Linked DNA regions of Homo sapiens: all the other regions are linked to region 2. The links are contacts of gene promoters, found by promoter capture Hi-C in blood cells and fetal thymus (Javierre and others, 2016). All regions are on one chromosome and are shown on one strand. The core of a region is centred on a gene start or on the middle of the fragment in contact, and the rest is flanking DNA. Distances in the headings are between cores, read along the strand shown. Region 1 overlaps FMC1-LUC7L2 (FMC1-LUC7L2 readthrough). Region 2 holds the start of PARP12 (poly(ADP-ribose) polymerase family member 12). Region 3 has its middle 13 kb from the start of KLRG2.

The links. Contacts are between HindIII fragments. The CHiCAGO score rates a contact against its expected background, and 5 or more counts as called.
Region 1: a contact is called between a fragment that was not itself captured here and the fragment with the promoter of PARP12 in region 2, in 1 of 17 cell types (M0 macrophages). The highest score is 5.1, in M0 macrophages.
Region 3: a fragment that was not itself captured here is called in contact with the fragment with the promoter of PARP12 in region 2 in 1 of 17 cell types (monocytes); the score reaches 5.1 in monocytes.

The regions. Positions count from the first base shown.
Region 1 is chr7:139,356,513-139,360,045 of GRCh38, reverse strand. The region is part of intron 2 of FMC1-LUC7L2 (FMC1-LUC7L2 readthrough); the gene reads right to left. It overlaps LUC7L2 (LUC7 like 2, pre-mRNA splicing factor), which reads right to left and starts at 152. Exons shown (of 10, transcript NM_016019.5): 1 at 1-152. RefSeq lists enhancers at 118-167, 888-1,017. The HindIII fragment of the contact is 5,233 bases long and covers 1-3,533 here.
Region 2 is chr7:140,061,366-140,064,743 of GRCh38, reverse strand. PARP12 (poly(ADP-ribose) polymerase family member 12) reads left to right here and starts at 1,793. Exons shown (of 12, transcript NM_022750.4): 1 at 1,793-2,222. The coding sequence starts at 1,897. RefSeq lists an enhancer at 1,646-1,855 and a silencer at 1,866-2,185. The HindIII fragment of the contact is 6,136 bases long and covers 1-3,378 here.
Region 3 is chr7:139,495,357-139,498,418 of GRCh38, reverse strand. No RefSeq gene overlaps it. Among named protein-coding and RNA genes, the nearest start is that of KLRG2, 13 kb to the right of the region's middle. RefSeq lists an enhancer at 2,657-2,836. The HindIII fragment of the contact is 3,389 bases long and covers 1-3,062 here.

The DNA.
Region 1 (3,533 bases), core at 659-3,158, 700 kb after region 2:
GACCCTCGTGCCCTCACTCTCCGTCCGGTTCTTGGGACAGAAGCGACACGGGCCAAGCAAGCTCTCGCCTTCAACACCGCCACCCGCCAGAAGCCGTCAACCCCCCCTCAAGCTCTGACGCCGCTCGCCGCCACCGTCGCCACGACGGGAGCGCGCACGCTCCTCGCGCTCAGTCGTTTCCCGCGGGGGCTCCACCAACTGGCGTCCAGCTGTATCACTCCGCCCGCCCCGCCCGAGTGGAGTTCCACCCTAACGGCTCTGGGCGCGTGCACGCGCGCTCCTCCCGCCCCTTTACCCCGGATCTCGCGATACTCTGGTTCCTTAACTGACTGTGCAAGCCGGATCCGCCCCGAGGCGCCAAACCTTACATTACATTCCCTCCCGGCTGTAGGGCTGGCGGCTAAGGCTGCGCTGCCCGCGGTGATGGCGATTCAGACCCAAATTAGCAAAATGCGCTAGAGGTTAGCCTGGGCGGAAAGTAAGTAGAGACCATGCCCATCGTCGACCGGACTGCGGTCAGCCTCCTTGGCGTCTGAGGTGGGCGTGCTCGGGGCGAACGCCCGCCCCGAGTGGCGTGGACGCGTCCTGGTTCTCGTGCGCCTTTCCCGGCCGGGAGCAGGCCTGTCTCGCCGCCGCCGGGGCCGCGTTCCTTCCGCTGCGTGGGGCTTTAAGGCTCCTCGGCTGGGAAGTGTCAACTTCAGGAGAAAGCGCCCGAAAGCAGTACCCTAGGAAACAGGCGCGCCGACCCATTCGGATTCATCTTTACCTACAAGGTCGCGGGCGGCTTAGTCTGAATGTGAAACCATAAAAACTCAGCGTATTCTCAGCTACTGGGGAGGCGATCTCGGGGAGCAGGGAGCCAGCGGCGCTGGCCGCAGGGAAGCCTGGATTCTGAAGCCCGGCCCGTGACTGGGGCCTTGGCTTCAGTTCTACCCCTCGTAGGGCTGGTGGAGGTGGTCACACGTCTGCTATGGCGTGGCTGTTAGAACAAACTGGAATAAAATACTTAGCCCTGAGCCTTTCCCTGGTGTTTCTAAAAACTGTTTTAGTAAAATATTAATTCCTTGCCGGGCGCGGTGGCTCACGCCTGTAAACCCCGCACTTTGGGAGGCCAAGGGAGGTGGATTGCCTGAGGTCAGGAGTTCAAGATCAGCCTGGCCAACATGGTGAAACCCTGTCTCTACTAAAAATATAAAAATTAGCCGGGCGTGATGGCGGGCGCCTCCCCAGCTACTCGGGAGGCTGAGGCAGGAGAATCGTTTGAACCCGGGAGACGGAGGTTGCAGTGAGTCGAGATGACGCCACTGCGCTGCAACCTGCGCGACAGAGCGAGACTTCTAAAAAAAAAAATTCCTTAAGTAAGACATAGGTCAGTGTGCAGGAAGAAAGGTTGCTTAAAAAGAAATCTAAAACTGTAAGAAAAATGAATGAGTTAATAAAACCAAATGTTTAAGAAGACAGGCACTTTCTAGATACTTTGAAAGGACATAATAGAGATTTGTGTTCCATTAACACTGTATATTCATCGCCTAAAAAGAAATTTAAAACTGTAAGAAGAATGAGTTAATAAAATCAAATGTTTAAGAAGACAGGCACTTCCTGGATACTTTGAAAGGAAATAATAGAGATTTGTGTTCCATTAACACTGTATACTCATCGCCTTGGAACTGTTATTAGCAGATCAATAAAAAACATGAATAGTAGTAATAGTCCCAAAATTCCTTTAAATGTATATTGCGGCTGGGAGGGATGGCTCATGCCTGTAATCCCAGTACTTTGGGAGGCAGAGGCGGGCGGATCACCTTGAGGTCAGGAGTTCGAGACCAGCCTGACCAACATGGTGAAATTCCATCTCTACTAAAAATACAAAAATTAGCCGGGCATGGATGCGCGTGCCTGTAATCCCAGCTACTCGGAGGCTGAGGCAGGAGAATCACTTGAACCCGGGAAGTGGAGGTTGCAGTAAGCCGAGATTATGCCACTGCACTCCAGGCTGGGTACAAAGCAAGACTCTATCTCAAAAATAAATGCGTATTGGGCCAATGAAAATTTTTGAGGTCGGACGCAGTGGCTCACACCTGGAATCCCAGCACTTTGGGAGGCCGAGGCGGGCGAATCACGAGGTCGGGAGTTTGAGACCAGCCTGCCAACATGGTGAAACCCTGTCTCTACTAAAAATAGAAAAAATGAGCTGGGCGTGGTGGCGCATGCCTGTAGTCCCAGCTACACCGGAGGCTGAGGCAGGAGAACCGCTTGAACCCAAGAGGCGGAGGTTGCAGTGAGCCGAGATCGCGCCATTGCACTCCAGCCCTGGTGAGTGTGAGACTCCATCTCAAAAAAAAAAAAAAAATTATTTTGAATCAAGTTATCTTTAGTAATACACAAAATAGCTTCTCTTCAGTTATTCAGAGAACTCTGAATTCCAAACTCCAAATACTAGGATATCCTTTGGGAACTGATTTATAATAATAGAAAAATGTGCAAATTAATATGTCTTTGAGGGATACACTATTATGTACACAATGTGATCTGACCCTGAAAAACAGTGTATTTAAAGAAATACACTAAAACCAATAATTATGTTTTGTTGAAGAGATTTGAGTTCTTTTTTTTATTTTAGATGTCTTATAAACAGCATATAATTGGGGCTTAAAAATAGTCTATACAATACATAATGATCAAAATTGAGGAGTGAAATTGAGGAGTGAATTAAGTGATGTTCACTCTTGGAAGCATTGATGATTTATATTCATGTAATTACTCCTGTGTTTGGGTTTAAAACTCTTATTTTTGCCTATTTGTCTCATCTATTTCATGTTTTTCTCTCCTTTCCTGCCTGATTTTTAATCATTCCAATTTCTTCCACTCTAGTAGTGTGGAAGTTTCATTTTATTATATTTTTATTCTTTCAGTGATTACCCTAGAAGTTATAATGTGTATCCTTAAGGTATCAAAGTCTAATTTAATCAATACCTTTATACTCCCCTCCCCCAAGAGAGGTAATACAAGGAACCTAGAACACTAACTCCATTTACTCTCATCCCAAGTTATATGCTCTTGTTACCAGGTCTTTTAGTTCTCTTATTTTTTAAAACCAAGTTTTATATAATCAATGTTCTTTATTTACCACTTATTTTGCTCTTCATTCCTTCGGAAATCTCTGCCTGTCCATCTGGGATCATTTCCTTTTTGTCTGAAGTTTATCCTTTAGCACAGGAGTCAGCAAGCTACGGTCCACAGGCCAAATGCAGCCCACGGCCTATTTTTGTGAATAAAGTTTCACAAAAATTCGAATACTGCCAGGCTCGTTCATTTACATATTGTTGTGGTTGCTTTTGCCCCACAATAGAGTTGGGTGGTTTGTGAGGGATCCCATACTGTGTGGCCTACAACACTCAAATATTTACTATCTGACTTTTTTTTTTTTTTTAACGCAGGTTTTCACCATGTTGGCCAGGCTGGTCTCAAACTCCTGACCTTAAGTGATCCACCTGCCTCGGCCTCCCAAAGTGCTGAGATTACCAGGGTGAGCC
Region 2 (3,378 bases), core at 544-3,043:
TAACAAAAACAAAATTAACATTTTATACAATGAAAACATTAAAATCACAATTAAAATCCAAGAGAAAACCCTTCATTCAATTTCCTAATTAAATAAATTCATTTTCATTTGTCCATGTTACTATCTAGTCTTTATCCATACACTTATTATTTACATTTTTGTAGTAATAGTACAGGTAATTTTTTTTTTTTTTTTAAAGATGGAGTCTCACTCTGTCGCCCAGGCTGGAGTGCAGTGTCATGATCTCCGCTCACTGCAATCTCTGCCTCCCGGATTCAAGCGATTCTCCTGCCTGTCTCCCGAGTAGCTGGGATTACTGGCGCCCGTTACCACGCCCGGCTAATTTTTACGTTTTTAGCAGAGACGGGGTTTCACCACGTTGGCCAGGCTGGTCTCAAACTACTGACCTCAAGTGATCCGCCCGCCTTGACCTCCCAAAGTGCTGGGATTACAGGCGTGAGCCACTGTGCCTGGCCTATAGTTAAGATTTTTATATTCATTTTTAGTGAATGTTATACCGTATACCGTAAGTACTCTCCCCCCACAATCCTTCTGCCTCTCATCTTCCCTTTTCCATTTTCCTAATACCTCCTACTGCCTCCTCTCAACTACCCTTGTGTGTTTCTTCATCTTTCTCCGTGCTTATTCAAAAATATCCTGCCACACACACACACACAGGCTTCTCTTTTTGTTATTCAGACATTTAAAAAAATTAATTCTTGATCATTCAACTTGATTATTTAGACATTTCTGTACAGCCATCTTTTCTCGTTTACCACCACATCATGGCTGTCTGCCCCTCTACATCCGCACACGGAGCTCTAACGCATGCTTGTTAAACAGCCTTCGTAATAGTCTTTAAAGATCAACCACACTGTTCCCACGTAACCCTACCTCCCAGGTAGGGTTCCCCCAGTAACACTTTCACACATAACTTATTTACTGTTCCTTTTACTTCTGGAAGATTCCGAGAGGAAAGATTGCTGGGTCAAAGGTCACACGCGTTTTCAATTTTAATAGCTATTCCTGGATTACCTCCTCAAAGGGCTCTAACAACTCGCATTGCTCTCAGCGTGTGAGAGGGTCCTTTGCTCTGAAGGGTCTTCTAAAATATTTGTTCAATCGTTACTTAGCAGGGGCTGGGAGTAACGGATTTTATTTTATTTTATTTTATTTTTTGAGACGGAGTCTCGCTCTGTCGCCCAGGCTGGAGTGCAGTCGCGCAATCTCGGCTCACGGATTTGCTCTTTTAAAGGACATACCCTTTTATGTTTAAATGAAGGAACTCATTGATGCACCGAGGCGAAAGGAACCTTTAATTAAGTGCGTCTTCTATGCGGAGTGATCGCTTTTGTCACTTGTTCGAGGGGTGAGAGCTCCCGTCAGTTGTCCCTGTTTCTGTGAGCCGTCTACGAAGCCCGGGCTTGGCCTGGGCGACGCTGAGCGGCTTTAACCGGCGGCGTCCAGCCGGCTCCGCCAGCGCTGCCGCCGCCCTCGAGGCTCCCTCTGACTGAAGGCGCGCTGAGCATCGCGGCATTAGGGGCTCCTGGTCCCTCAAACATCCAGGGAAGCCATTTTCAGGGACTAGGTACTGACCCCCGCGAGCCGCCACAGCCACAGCCCGCGCTCCGGGCCGAACGCCCGAGCTCAAGAGCTCCCGAGCTTCCGTCGGGCGGCGGCCTCACAGCTGGGGGCCCTGAGGCGGAAGGCGCAGCCGCTCAGCTGCGGACCGGGGGCGTGGCGAGGGCGCACAGGTTCTGTTTTTCGCCGGCCCGGGGCCGCTTTCGGTTTCGTTTCCCGCCGGCGTCTCCACCCTGCGAGAGCCGCCCGCCAGCCAGCGTCCGCCGCCGTCCGCGTCGCGCCACCCGCGGTCCGACGGGAGCAGGCCCAGCGGCCATGGCCCAGGCCGGCGTCGTCGGTGAGGTCACCCAGGTGCTGTGCGCGGCCGGGGGCGCCCTGGAGTTGCCCGAGCTGCGGCGCCGCTTGCGGATGGGCTTGAGCGCCGACGCGCTGGAGCGGCTGCTGCGGCAGCGTGGGCGCTTCGTGGTGGCGGTGCGGGCGGGCGGCGCAGCCGCGGCCCCGGAGCGCGTGGTGCTGGCCGCCTCGCCGCTGCGCCTGTGTCGCGCGCACCAGGGCTCCAAGCCGGGCTGCGTGGGGCTCTGCGCGCAGCTCCACCTCTGCAGGTTCATGGTCTACGGCGCCTGCAAGTTCCTGAGAGCCGGGTAAGGCGCCGCGCCGGGAGCGACGGCGGGCGGAGGTCCTGCGCGCCCTCACGCACTTCCAGCCCGCTTGGGGGTCCTACTTGAAGTTTGAGCAGACAATTCGGTGGCTCTGCCCTGACCTCGCACCGTCATTCACTAAAGCGAGCGTTTAATGAGCACCTGCGGAGTACCTGGCACAGTGCGAGGGACTCAGGGTCGAGTGGGGTCCTCTAGACGCCTGGGGGGAGAGAGTGATTTACATAGAGCATGGTAGTGCCGGGTGGAACACCCGGGTGTGGCCGTGTGGGGTGGGGAGGGAGGGAGGCGGCGGCTTAGGGGAACTCCACGACGCCGCGGGTCGCCCCTTGCCAGCTTTGAGGCCAGACAATGAAGGTTTTCTCTGCCCAGCAGCTGGTAGAGATCTTTAAACCCAGTTCAACCCTATTAATCTGCTTACAAACTGGAAAATGCAGACTCCCTGCCATCGCCCACAAGGTCCTGGGGCACTGGTCCCTGCCCACCCAGGACCCTTCTGTGACTGGAACACCCCCCCCCCCCCGGGCATTTCTGGGAGCCTGGGCATTTCTGGGAGTCTTTGCTCTGCCTGGAATGCCCTTCTTGCTCTTGGTTGGCCCTATTTGTTAATCCTTCAGGCCTCAACCTAAAGATCACATCCCATTTGAGGATTTTTCCTCCCCTTACTCTTGGTCACAGGGAACTGTTTATTTTCCTCATGGCACCCAGCTGCCAGTAGAATAGAAACTCCCTGAGGGCAGAGGCTCCAGCTGTCTCCCCAGCACTTAGCGTCCATGTTCTGTGCATAGCATGTGGCCAGTGGGATGTGTGGAAGGGATTGCTGAGGTTTATGCTAAAGAATTTGGGCCTCACCCTGGAGGTGATGGGGCGGGTAAAATGGCAGGAGAGAGCAACCATCAGGTTTGCGTTTTAGGAAGTCTAAGGTAGTGGTGTGGGTGCCAATTTAAGGGAGGATGTTGTGGGGGAACCACTGGGAAGCTAGTCATCAAGGAGAATTCCTTCCTCCCCTGCTCCCTCCTTTCTTGCTTGCTCCCTGTTTTGTGTGTGTGTGTGTATGTTTGTCTTAATAGAGTAGATATTTCTTGCTCATGTCAGGCCCAGTAGTGAGCATGGGGTGGGGGCCTTGATCCATACAGTCATT
Region 3 (3,062 bases), core at 319-2,818, 570 kb after region 2:
GGCCTGGTGTCTCTGATGGGTACTCAGTAGTAGGAGTGTCTATTCCCTTAGGGAGGAGGGTGGACCTCAGTGGATCCATGGACTTGGTCCCAAGATCGTTAGAGATGTTAGATTTGTCCCTTAGAAGATCACTTCTATATATCGGAGGCAGTGACTCATGCCTGTAATCCCAGTACTTTGGGAGGCTGAGGTGGGCGCATCACTTGAGCTCAGGAGCTCGCGACTAGCCTGGGCAACTTCGCAAAACCCGTCTCTAAAAAAAAAAAAAAAAAAAAAAAATTAGCCTGGTGTAGTAGCACACACCTGTAATCGCAGCTGCTCAGGAGGCTGAGGCATGAGAACCATTTGAACCTGGGAGGCGGGGATTGTAGTTAGCAGAGATCGAGCCACTGCACTCCAGCCTGGGCAACAGAGTGAGACTCTGTCTCAAAAAAAAAAAAAAAAAGACGGTCACATCTACGGAAGGGTTTTGTTCACTTCAGCCAGAGCTAAGTGATGGCTGACAATTTCCACTTGTCTGACGCCCTCATGATGTTTTTTTGTTTGTTTGTTTGTTTGTTTGTTTTTTGAGATGGGGTCTCGCTCTGTTGCCCAGGCTGGAGTGCAGTGGCACAATCTCAGCTCACTTTAACCTCCGCCTCCTGGGTTCAAGCGATTCTTCTCCCTCAGCCTCCTGAGTAGCTGGGATTACAGGTGCCTGCCACCACGCCTGGCTAATTTTTGTATTTTTAATAGAGGTGGGGTTCTATCATGTTGCCCAGGCTGTTCTCGAACTCCTGAGCTCAAGTGATCCGCCCACCTCAGCCTCCCAAAGTGCTGGGATTACAGACAAGAGCCACTGCGTCCGGCTTCAAGATGTTTATGATTAGGACCCAAACTGGTCCAACTTTCTTTCTCATTCTCCCATTCATCTGACCCTGATCCTCCTCTACTCTTCACCCTTAACATATTTATATCTGCTTAGAATTCAGCAAAGCGAAACTCTGCATCCTGAAAACCTGAGCAGGCATTTTGGACCACATGTTCATGGCAACATAATCTGGATCATATTCACTGGGTCTGTGGTAGGGAACGTTCTCACTTTGCATTAAGAAAAGGACAACCAGATACCAACTTTTAGAAAATGAAATTAAAAATTTTAGCAAAGCATTTAAACTATTTTCTTTTTTTTTTTTTTTTTGAGATGGAGTCTCGCTCTGTCACCCAGGCTGGAGTGCAGTGGCGCAATGTCGGCTCACTGCAACGTCCACCTCCCAGGTTCAAGCAATTCTCCTGCCTCAGCCTCCTGAGTAGCTGGGACTGCAGGCGTGCACCACGTCCAGCTAATTTTTTCGTATTTTTAGTAGATACGAGGTTTCACCATGTTGGTCAGGCTGGTCTCGAACTCCTAATCTCAAATGGTCCACCTGCCTCGGCCTCCCAAAGTGCTGGGATTACAGGCATGAACCACCATGCCCGGCCTCAACTATTTTCTGAAGTAGATTTCCCCTGAAGCCAGAGGCTCCTCATCGGACATTTATTCTTCTCTAACTGACGAATGCGGCTTTTACTCGGGAGAAAAGCCTCTTTATGGGCTGTGACCATCTTCCTCCAGCCACCTGACTCCTCGTATTTGACAGGCTGGTGATCATGTTATGCTTGTACCACAAAGGACTGTGCAGATATCTGACCGGATATTCTCGCTGCTTGAAAAGCACATGTCTGATTCAACCCCGCGTGGTGCTGTCATGAAACCCTCCTCCCCAGCCAAGCCATATGCATGGATGTTAGTGTTGATGTGTTGTAGTGTCGTTGTGTGCCCCCAATCTCCCTTAAAGGCCATGGTTATTGCCAGAGTTATTAACCTGGGCCAAGGAGGGTCTGTCCTCACAACTCCCACTTTCAGGGGAATGAGGGAATTTCAGGCTTTTTCCGGGCCACAGTTGATTTGCACCCTTGAGGGTGGTCCCAACAGGTACAGAAGAGCTTGGCACAAAATGCCCATGGATAGCAAGTCCTGGCTGGGTTGTTCCCCCTGCCATTGCCAGTTTTGGGTTAATAGGGGCACTGAGGGCTGGATGTGTGGCGGGAGGTGGAGTGTAACCCTGAGCCCCTAGAGAAAAGGGACACGTGGTTTGGATTAAGGTCCAAAGGAGGATCTGGCCTTGAAGTGTGCTGGTTTTGGGGCCTGCAGGATGGAGTGACTGTGATTTGGGAGCAGGGTGTGGGGAATCCCTGGATTCTAGGGCTGCTCCCTTTTGGGGTGTGTGAGTGTCCCTGGAGAGGCACGGTGGTCATGTGAGACCCCTCCTCTGTTTCACACAGGCAAGTCCTTGAGTGTTCAGAATCCTCCCAATATCCGACAGCTCTCAGGAAGCATACTCTCCTGTCCTGAGGTGGGCAGAGGAGATGGAGAGAACAGGTGAAGGCAGGTCACAGAAGCAAGACAGGACTGACACGCACCAGGGCCTGGCTGGGCAGTGGACCTCAGACTGAGGACAGGCAGAGGTGGCCAGGCCAGTTCAGTCCTGATAGAGCCAACTCCAGGGCCCGAGAGACCATCAGGCAAAACTGACCCCCCAGAGGGCTGTGGCGCTGCTGAGGCTTTGCGTCTCCCCTTTAATCCTGAGCAGCCCAGGCTGCTCGCTGCCTCCAGCCCTGCTATCTACCCTGACATCCAGCTTTCCTGCAGTGGCCTGACTTCCCTGGGAGGACCAATCTCTTAGATCCAGGTGGAACCAGAATCTGGTGGGTTTTAAATGAATTCAGTCTCTTTGTCCTCATCGAGCTCCACACAGTCGGGCCAAAGTGGGTAGTCAGGGTCTTGTGAGGAGACCCCCACATCTTCCTCTGCAGTCTAGCAACCCATTGGGGCCCAGGCACAGGCTCTAGGAGAGGGGCTGTTCACCAGGGCTGCGCATTCAGCAGAGCAGGCTGTGGGCTGCTTAGCCCCAGCGGGTGCCATTCACCCAGTGCAGATGTGAATGAGATCCCTGGAGTGGAGCAACTCATCATCCCTGCTCCTGACAGCAGTGACAAAAACACCCCGCTGATGGGTAGAGAGAGTCTGGTTTAAAATTAGC